3 separate regions of the Homo sapiens genome follow, and regions 1 and 2 are each linked to region 3. Evidence: promoter capture Hi-C in 16 types of primary human blood cells and fetal thymus (Javierre and others, 2016). All regions are on one chromosome and are shown on one strand. The core of a region is centred on a gene start or on the middle of the fragment in contact, and the rest is flanking DNA. Distances in the headings are between cores, read along the strand shown. Region 1 overlaps ENTPD4-DT (ENTPD4 divergent transcript). Region 2 holds the start of STC1 (stanniocalcin 1). Region 3 holds the start of NKX2-6 (NK2 homeobox 6).

Evidence for each region. The method cuts DNA at HindIII sites, captures the fragments that hold promoters and counts their contacts. A CHiCAGO score of 5 or more calls a contact.
Region 1: a fragment that was not itself captured here is called in contact with the fragment with the promoter of NKX2-6 in region 3 in 4 of 17 cell types (M0 macrophages, neutrophils, monocytes and 1 more); the score reaches 7.6 in M0 macrophages.
Region 2: the fragment with the promoter of STC1 here is called in contact with the fragment with the promoter of NKX2-6 in region 3 in 2 of 17 cell types (naive CD8 T cells and non-activated CD4 T cells); the score reaches 7.5 in naive CD8 T cells.

Annotation. Positions count from the first base shown.
Region 1 is chr8:23,463,501-23,466,572 of GRCh38, reverse strand. All of the region lies in intron 2 of ENTPD4-DT (ENTPD4 divergent transcript), which reads right to left. Among named protein-coding and RNA genes, the nearest start is that of ENTPD4-DT, 7.3 kb to the right of the region's middle. The HindIII fragment of the contact is 5,931 bases long and covers 1-3,072 here.
Region 2 is chr8:23,853,092-23,856,398 of GRCh38, reverse strand. It overlaps STC1 (stanniocalcin 1), which reads left to right and starts at 1,593. Exons shown (of 4, transcript NM_003155.3): 1 at 1,593-1,993. The coding sequence starts at 1,876. The HindIII fragment of the contact is 2,191 bases long and covers 1-1,769 here.
Region 3 is chr8:23,705,378-23,708,593 of GRCh38, reverse strand. It overlaps NKX2-6 (NK2 homeobox 6), which reads left to right and starts at 1,838. Exons shown (of 2, transcript NM_001136271.3): 1 at 1,838-2,269. The coding sequence starts at 1,996. The region is part of intron 3 of LOC107986930 (a long non-coding RNA gene); the gene reads right to left. The HindIII fragment of the contact is 21,372 bases long and covers 1-3,216 here.

The DNA of each region.
Region 1 (3,072 bases), core at 71-2,570, 240 kb after region 3:
ATCCCAGCACTTTGGGAGGTTGGAGCATGAGGATCATTTGAGCCCAGGAGTTTGAGGTTACAGTGAGCTACTATTGTACCACTGTACTCCAGCCTGGGTGACAGAGACTCTGTCTCTAAATAAATAAATAAATAAATAAATAAATTTAAGATGGTAAATTTTATGTTATGTGTATTTTACCACAATTTTTTTTAACAAAAGAGGAATCCTTCCTCCTCTTCACATTTATCGTTCTCTTTGTGTCTTCAGTCACATCTCATGCCACCTCTTCCAGGAGGTTTATTCATTCCTTCTGCGTTCTCCACTCTGGGATTGCCACAAACATTTGGAGGGTCAGGGCTAAGAGGACACACCCATGTTTTAAGATGTTTAAAATGATAAATTCAGATAAACTAGTAAATCAAATGTTATAGCCCCTCTAATTTTTACTTTTTTGCATTTATTTTTAAATCTATATATTAAATCTATATATCTTTGTAACAACAACATGGAAAAGTCTGTAATACTGTGGTTTCTGTAAGACTGAAAGTCAGGCAAGTATCAAGGCTCAAGCTCTGTCCTGAAGCCCCACACTCCCCACTCATCCTCCCAGCTGCTCAGGCCAGCCCACAGCCTTGGGCAACAGCAGAGGCTTCTACAGTCAAGGCCATAGGGCTACATTTTCCTGGGGTAGCTACAGAGCTGCTTCTAGGGCGTGGGACCTGTGCAGTCAGTCACAGATGGCTGGCACTTAGAAAAGCCCTGCACTGATCGGATCATGAGGTCAGGAGTTCGAGACCAGCCTGACCAACATAGTGAAACCCCATCTCTACTAAAAATACAAAAATTAGCCAGGCATGGTGGCACGTGCCTGTAGTCCCAGCTGCTCGGGAGGCTGAGGCAGAAGAATTGCTTGAACCCGGGAGGCAGAGGTTGCAGTGAGCCGAGATCACACCACTGCACTCCAGCCTGAGCAACAAGAGTGAAACTCCATCTCAAAAAAAAAAAAAAAGAAAAGAAAAGAAAAGAAGGCACAATTGGGAAACAAGCAAATAGTCCATTAAACATGTTAGAACACAGCGAAAATATATATAGGGAAGTGTCTGGACATCAGGCTTAAAAGTTGAAAGCAACTTAACCATGGCCTTGGGGTGTCATGCCAAGGAGACTAGTGTGAAGCCATCCTGTCCATGACATCTGGTCACCTCATCGATTTGCAGTTGATTTGCTCAGGAATTTCAACCTTAACTTAAAGGTGATGGTGCAGTAGGGAAGGATGGTGAGAGGAAGAATGGTATGTTATCTGGTGTGAGAAAGGAACAGAGAGAGGTTTAAGGTGTCCAATAAACTACCCACTGCTTCCTGCTTAAGTCTGAATAATTTTAGAAATGAAACAAAAACTATATGAAAACCTGTGAAAGGAAAATATCTTGGGGCCCCAAAATCACTAAGCCAAAGGGAAAATTCAAGCTGGAAACTGCTCAGGGCAAACCTGCCTCCCATTCTACTCAAAGTCATCCCTCTGCTCACTGACATAGAGGCATATTCTGATTGCCTCCTTTAGAAAGGCTTATCAGAAACTCAAAAGAATGCAACCCCTTTTCTCTCACCTACCAGTGATCTGGAAGACCCCTCCTTGCTTTGAGTTGTCCCCACCTTTCTGGATGGAACCAATGTATGTCTTACATATATTGATTGATGTCTCATGTCTCCCTAAAATGTATAAAATGAAGCGGTGCCCCAGCCACCTTGGGCACATGGCGTCAGGATTTCCTGAGGCTGTGCCATGGGCGCACATCCTCAACCTTGGCAAAATAAACTTTCTAAATTAACTGAGACTTGTCTCTGATTTTCTGGGTTTACAAACCAAAGTATCATCTTTATCACAGATGAAGCTGATATTGAAAAATGGAGCTTTTATCTAATCAGAACAACATTGACTCGTGCCAGTCATCATGATCAGGAGACAAAATTACCTTGCTTAACCAGGCCAGGGTCATAATTTCTGACCCAAATGGACCAAATATGACCTGAGTATATTCCTTCAGAAATCTGAGGTACTGTTACCAAAACTAGAGTGATGGGGCCCGAGCAGCAAAAGCAACTATGTCTGCTGCCTACGTGTGTGTGTGTTTTGTGTGTGTGTGTGTGTGTGCATGTGTTTGTGTGTTCAATTACCCATCTCCCATGTGACTCCTTTATGGTACAGTTTGATCACTCTGCTTTGATGAGAAAAGTTTGGAGTAAACCCAGGATTTAGGGCCAGACGTTGTGGCTCACGCCTGTAATCCAAGCACTTTGGGAGGCCAAGGCGGACAGATCACCTGAGGTCGGGAGTTCGAAACCAGCCTGACCAACATAGAGAAACCCCGTCTCTACTAAAAATACATAACAATTAGCCCAGCGTGGTGGCGCATGCCTGTAATCCCAGCTACTCGGGAGGCTGAGGCAGGAGAATCGCTTGAACCCAGAAGGCAGAGGTTATGGTGAGCCAAGATCGCGCCATTGCACTCCAGCCTGGACAACAAGAGTGAAACTTGGTCTCAAAAAATAAATAAATAAATAATTTTTAAAAAAATTTGGAGGAAACCCTGGATTTTGATGTTGCTTTGAACAAGTCACTTTCTCTTTCTCTCCACAACAAAACACCATGAAATAAAAATCCCTTTGCCTTAGGAATGCTGGGCTCATAAATGAGACCATGCCTGTAAAGTGACATGATTTCCTGAAGACAAAGGCTGTGTAAATATATAGGATTATTAGCCAAGCCACTCAAAAATAGTCTGTGCATGAATGTCTTGGAAAGCAAACAGGTCCAAGGAAGAGTAAGAGAACTCCCCATTTCCAAGCGCTGCAGGATTCCTTTGTTTCCTGACATCTAGCATGGTTACCTTCCCCAAACACCCACACACAGCCAGGAGGGACAGGTGAGCCAATTTAGCTTCCTTGGAATGATGGATTAAAACATTTGGAGAGCAGAATTTCAAGCAATTGCCATGTTAGAGGGTTTTCTAGAAAGATAATTAAAGAGAAATCATAATTGGGTTTTAGATATTGATGGTTGTTCATCTGCCCTACTCCATTCATCAACAT
Region 2 (3,307 bases), core at 344-2,843, 150 kb before region 3:
TTCTATTCCTTTTTCTAGCAAACTTTCATACTTACCAAACAACCCTATTTTGTGAGGGATAGGCTATCATCACCCAGAACCGTCCGCCGCCCCCCCCCCCCCGCCCCCCACCACCCTATCACCCCACAACATACACAGAGCTGACACTTGGTTTAGTTTGTGGTTAACAGGGGTGGCACTCTTTCTTCAACTTTTGTTTGAAGGTTTTAGGATGCAAAGTAAAGCCACTGGCCCCATTTCTCTGCAAGATTATCCTGCCCAAATCTGTATGAATCACCAGTGGCCATTTCTCATCTACTTCCCCAAAATTATTAAAGGTTTTATTGTATAATACCTTCACCACCTTCCTACCCTAAGAAGTCCTCTTCTGGCTCATTAACCTCCTTCACATGTTGGGGACAAACCTCAGCATTGCCTACAACTCACTTATAAGAAAATATAAGTTTCTATACCAGGCATGATTTGTGATTGCAGTGCAATTTTCCTATTAAGTCTAGAGCTTATCATTCTTCTCTCCTACACATTCTGGTCTTTCTCTACCCCTTCTTTCCATTCTGCCCCCTTTTTTCCTACCCCTCTCCCCAAGAAATGAACTGGTTTCCATTCAGCAGGTTTAGTCTTGCTTTGGCCAGCTTATTGTTTCAAAGTGGTTATAAAGTTGCTGGGCTTGAACACAGATTATTAATTTTCAGGCATTCATGATGTCTCCCTGTTGAGTGTGGTATGTGCAGGTGTGCACATGTGTACCTGGGGTAACTAACACTCCTGGACTATGCAATTTTGCTGGTGACTGAAAAGATGAAGTCAAAGTTGATTTGATTATTGAAGAATCACATTATTTTAGAGGTATACAGAATGTCAGAGTCCAACTTTGGCGTTTTACAGATGGGAAAACGAGGTGGGGCAAGGTAAAAAGACTTAGCCAGAGTCATAGGTTGATCAGTAGGGGGACTAAGGCTTCAGCTCTGAGCTGTCATATCTCAGTCCCCCAAGGCTTTTCCACTCACATAAATTCCCCCTCAAGGGCTCAAATGTGTGAGTGAGAACCCAGGATGTCCACATACAAACAAAAATGCATCATAGACATGTGAACATGTACACACAGAGAAGATAGGGAGTTATTGCATTTGTAGCCTACAAAACAGAACCGAGAATGTGCTGTTAAAATTAGAGTAAAACTGCTGTAAGCAGGTTAAGTTCTCATCTAAAGAGATCACATTTCCCCACCATACCCCTGCTATCCATTTCCCCCAAGTGGCTCATTAGAAAAAAAGATGGCTAGATTTCAAAAAGCAACTTGGAGAGATTTCTATAGGATTTTTCTTTAGTTCAATCAATACAGAGTTATCTCTTACTTCCACGAAAATAGCTTTTTCACACATCTCTGCACACACAGTCACACACACATATAAAACATTGGCAGCAGGTACTTTTAATTTGCTGGAAAATATTTCTAAGAAGTCAAAAAGCTCCAGCTGAATTGCATGCCCTCTTATTGGCTCACCAGACCAGTTGAGGGACCTGATTGGTCCTTGATCCTGAGGACCGATAAGAACGGCTATAAAATCCCTGGGTGCAGCTCTTGGGCCCCCAGTTTGCAAAAGCCAGAGGTGCAAGAAGCAGCGACTGCAGCAGCAGCAGCAGCAGCGGCGGTGGCAGCAGCAGCAGCAGCGGCGGCAGCAGCAGCAGCAGCGGAGGCACCGGTGGCAGCAGCAGCATCACCAGCAACAACAACAAAAAAAAATCCTCATCAAATCCTCACCTAAGCTTTCAGTGTATCCAGATCCACATCTTCACTCAAGCCAGGAGAGGGAAAGAGGAAAGGGGGGCAGGAAAAAAAAAAAACCCAACAACTTAGCGGAAACTTCTCAGAGAATGCTCCAAAACTCAGCAGTGCTTCTGGTGCTGGTGATCAGTGCTTCTGCAACCCATGAGGCGGAGCAGAATGACTCTGTGAGCCCCAGGAAATCCCGAGTGGCGGCTCAAAACTCAGGTAAGCAGCAAACCCAAGAGCGGTTTCTCCCCCAAAGAGCTGTCCTCATTTGCCTCTCCCTTTTGCAACTGTGTCTGTGACGGCTGATCTTGATAATAAATGTGCTTCATGCCTGATGGCAATAAACTGCCAGTGTAATCCAATAGCCTTAGGCAGTGGAGCTCCTTTGTTTAATAAATTGCATGCAACTAAACGAAGAAGCTGGACGCTCTGCTGAGGGTATTTCATTGCATAAGCCTAGCCTGATTGCCTGAAATCTGGCACGTACCCTCTTGGAGGGGGAGGGGTGAGAGGGGAGGAAAGGCTTGAATGTTGGCATGCTTCAAAGCGCTCTCTATACTTTCCAGAAGCTGATCTAAGGTAAGACCTGGCTTGTTTGATGCTGTCCCTCTTCCTTTCCTCTTAAGACTCTACCTCTTCACTTCTTGACTTCTCTACCTAAGAGAATACACAGAAAAGCTCCCTCTTCAGACTGATTTTCAGAACCATAGCCCTCAAGTCTGACAAATCCAGGGCGGATTCAGAGAAAACCCTATACATCCCACCCCCAACCCTGCTGCCTGTCTCCCTCCTGGCTCTGTAGGGCTCCATTCAGTCGTCCCTGCAGCCCGTAGCCAGAGAGCCCCTAGAAAAAAAAAATTGTGAAACGTAGCAGCTGTTTCTCCAAGGGTAAGGTCTCACTTTCGTCTTGACTCTTGGAGCAGTTAATTGTGCATTATCTTGGCTTCTGAAGGAAAAGAATCATTAGGAAGCCTGCATTGACACCTCTGCCTCTTGACTTCTCTGGCTCCACTTGTTCCCCTTCCAATACTGCCCTCTGTCCTCCAACTGTCAGCAAAGACCGGATCACAGGTGTCAAAATGCTGCAGATGATGATCCCCTTGGAAGAGCACAGGTCCCTGCCGAGAGGAGGGCTTTTGCTTCACTTCCTTTTGTACTTAGTTGCTATAGAGATGCAGTGATTCACAATTCGAGCTTGCCTAAAACAATAGCAGCCCTAATGCATATTAAAACTGCTTAAAGCAAAGTTATAATTTAAACCCGTGGAAATATATAATTAGGGAAATGACTTGTAACATCCTAGAGGCTGCGGGTGGTGGGAGGGGGTGGGGAAGACTAACTGAACCATGCTTTTGATCTCAGAGGAGAATCCTATGGCATGAAGGCTGCAGATCATTCCTTGCCTAGCTGCCTGCCAGAACACCCCCCTTCTGTGGGAGAAAAATTACTTTTATGGGAGATCTTATCCAGAATGTAGAAAGCCTCATGCAAGTTTTTTGCGGTTTTCTTCCAGTCTTGCATAGGGAGGCCTTG
Region 3 (3,216 bases), core at 589-3,088:
GGAGGAGGAGGAGGAGGGGAAGAAGAAGAAGAAGAAGAAGAAGAAGAAGAAGAAGAAGAAGAAGAAGAAGAAGAAGAAGAAGAAGAAGAAGAGGAGGAGGAAGAAGAAGAAGGAGCAGCAGCTGGAAATATTTGGGTATAGCTTTGATGTGAAGATTAAATGTTACCATGTATAGGAAATCATTACTTTGTAGCTGAATGATCAAATGTGCTGAAATTTTGCATAAATATTTGTGTGCAATTTTGCACCCATTAGCCTGGGGAGATGAGTTGGGTTTATCTGAATTTCAGGAGATAATCATATTCAAACAGCTGTTGTAACATTGAATTCACGTAAGTAGGTTTAAGAAGCATTTGAAGCCTGCGCGGTGGCTCACACCTGTAATCCCAGCACTTTGGGAGGCCGAGGTGGGCACATTACTTGAGCCCAGGAGTTCAAGACCAGCCTAAGCAACATGGCGAAACCCCGGCTCTACAAGCAATAAATAAATAAATAAATAGCCAGGCTTAGTGGCTGCATCTGTGGTCCCAGCTACTCAGGAGGCTGAGGTGGGAGGATCACTGAGTCCGGGTCGAGGCTGCAGCGAGCCATGATCCGGCCACTGCATTCCAGCCTGGGAGACAGAGAGAGACCCTGTAACCAAAAAAAAAAAAAAAAAGGAAGAAAGAGAAAGAAAGAAAAGAAAGAAAGAAAAAGGAGGGAGGGAGGGAGGGAAAGGAAGGAAAGAAAAACAAAAAGAAACATTTGATCTGAAATCCCCAAAAGAACTCTAATGAGATCCCATTGTGATTAAAACACAATTTTTAAACCCTCTTCGATTCAGTGCTGGAACAGCTGACACCAAATCACGTTTCCCTGATCCAGGAGTAGTAACAGCAGGGGCTGGATCTGTTGGCGCTATCTCCGTGTTGGTAACCTTTGTGCCACACTGCGCCATTTACTCGGTGCCCGCCGTAACCAAGGGCCTTTTCTGGAGATCTAATGCGAGTCAAATCTTCCCAGCCCTTCGGCGGGCGCCGCATTTATACGCGCACACAAGCTGGCACGCTCCAGGCAATCCGCTTTAAGGAGGATAAAGGAGAGGAAGAAAAAGAACGTGGGGACGCCAAGGGCGACGGAAGCCCACCCCCCCCCACCCCCACTCCCGCCTCTGACCACTTTGCGCGGGCCGCAGAGATTGCCTTCCAGTCTCCCCCACCATTCGCGGAGCCCTTTAAGAGGTCGAGGGCTCCCCACATGTAGCCCCCACACCCATTCCTCGGTCCTGGGGCTGAGAAGCTGCTCCTAGGAAGTGGCGGGTCGGGACTCCGCAGACCTGGATTCTGTTCAAAGAGAGAGGTTTCCATCTCAATATAGGCCCTGGTGGGTCAAGACTCACTTCTACTCTGCGGTCCGGCCTCTGCGCACGTAAGATCCCAGCGCGCGCCTCAAATTCCGCGGGTCCCAGCTGTCTCTATCTTAGCTTTCCTCCGCCATAAGAATGCAGAGTTGAGCTAAGACCAGGCTGGATGGACCGGATCGGGTTGCACAGCAAGGACTCCACCTCCAATCCCCGCATGTCCACTAGGAGGGTCCCCGTGGACCCTAGGTTGACCTCGGAAGCTCCCGCTAGTACCGTATTGACGGAGATCCAAGCCGCGCGCAGCACTGTCTCTCCACGTTTTCTTTGCTTTGAGAACCGTCAATACGAACCAAACCTCCCAGGAAGGCGACTGGGGACTGGAGAGGATTCGACGGGCGCGGGAAGAAAGCGCTGGGGGAGGAAGGTGCAGAGCTAGCACGTGGTTTCTGCGAGAACCAATGGGGGGCTACGGTCTCGTCACCCGGCCCTGGACCCGGGCCTACCAGCATGGCCCAGAGGAAGGCGCTGTCTGGGACGCTGGGCGTCTGTCCCAGAGCTTGGGTCTGTCTGCGGGGCCTGCAGCGACAAGACGGGAAGTTCAGGGTGCCGCTCCTCACCCGGACCTCCTCGGCCCCGCCCCATCCGCCTTCGGGATGCTGCTGAGCCCCGTCACCTCCACCCCCTTCTCGGTCAAGGACATCCTGCGACTGGAGCGCGAGCGGAGCTGCCCCGCGGCTTCGCCACATCCGCGGGTGCGGAAGAGCCCGGAAAACTTTCAGTACCTGAGAATGGACGCAGAGCCGCGAGGGTCAGAGGTTCACAACGCTGGTGGCGGCGGCGGTGACAGAAAGCTGGATGGTTCGGAGCCTCCTGGGGGTCCCTGTGAGGCAGTCTTGGAGATGGACGCGGAACGGATGGGGGAGCCACGTGAGTAAGCGCTCAGGTCTTGCCTCCTACGGGGGGAATGTGGGGGCGGGGGCGTGATCCATGGGTGCATGGGGAAAATACGCCTCCTATCTCCTGGGTTCGAGACTCTCTCCATTTTCTCTCGAGGAGTCCAAAAAAAGGCCTCTCGAATCCCATTCCCATCCTCTCCTGACACCCAGTGTGCTTCACACACCCCTAACGAAAGTAAGGCCCTGAATCTCAAGGATTCACTTTTCCCAAATCCGCTCCTCTGATTCCCACAAACGCATCGCTCACACTCGCAGCCACAGTGCCCAGAACCTCCACCTTCTCATCTCCACAGCGAAACCCTCCGCAGTGTCTTAGCCGTGCCAGTCACCACCGCCCTTCCCTACCATCACCTGGTGTCTCTCCACCCCCAAACCGTTTGCAAAAGCGTGTGGCCATCAAAGCAGTGGAACCCTCGTGGCGCTGAGGTCACTCCTAACTGGGCCCTTTCTTGCTGGTCTGGTCGGGGGACCCCCCCATTCCTCCTCATGGATTTTTCTTCTGGAAGACGAAAGTTGGGGACCGGGTGGCGATTGAGTCTCCCGAAGTGGAAGGCCCCGTTGGCGCAGGATTCTCCGCGTCAGGGAGAACGTTAAAGGTTGCCAGGGTTTTCTCTGCCCTGGGACACGGTTCTGGCCGAGTCCTGTCGCAGGTATCCAAAGGCGCAACCGTGCGCGCCGGGCTGCGAGGCCCACGCACCTGTGTCCAGCCCGCTGGAAGGGAAGGGGCTGGCGGGGAGTTGTGTTGCGTCGATCCGGGAGTTGTGTTGTGTCGATCCGGAGGCTTCAGCTGGAGAGGCCCGATATTCCAAGGGATGAAAACGCCACCTTTTTCTCTCCAAACCTCAGCACCTCACTCGGCATTCTCAACGCAGGGGCCCTGAGTAGCGCCCGCCAGGGCAGGCCTCCTCTGCCAGACTG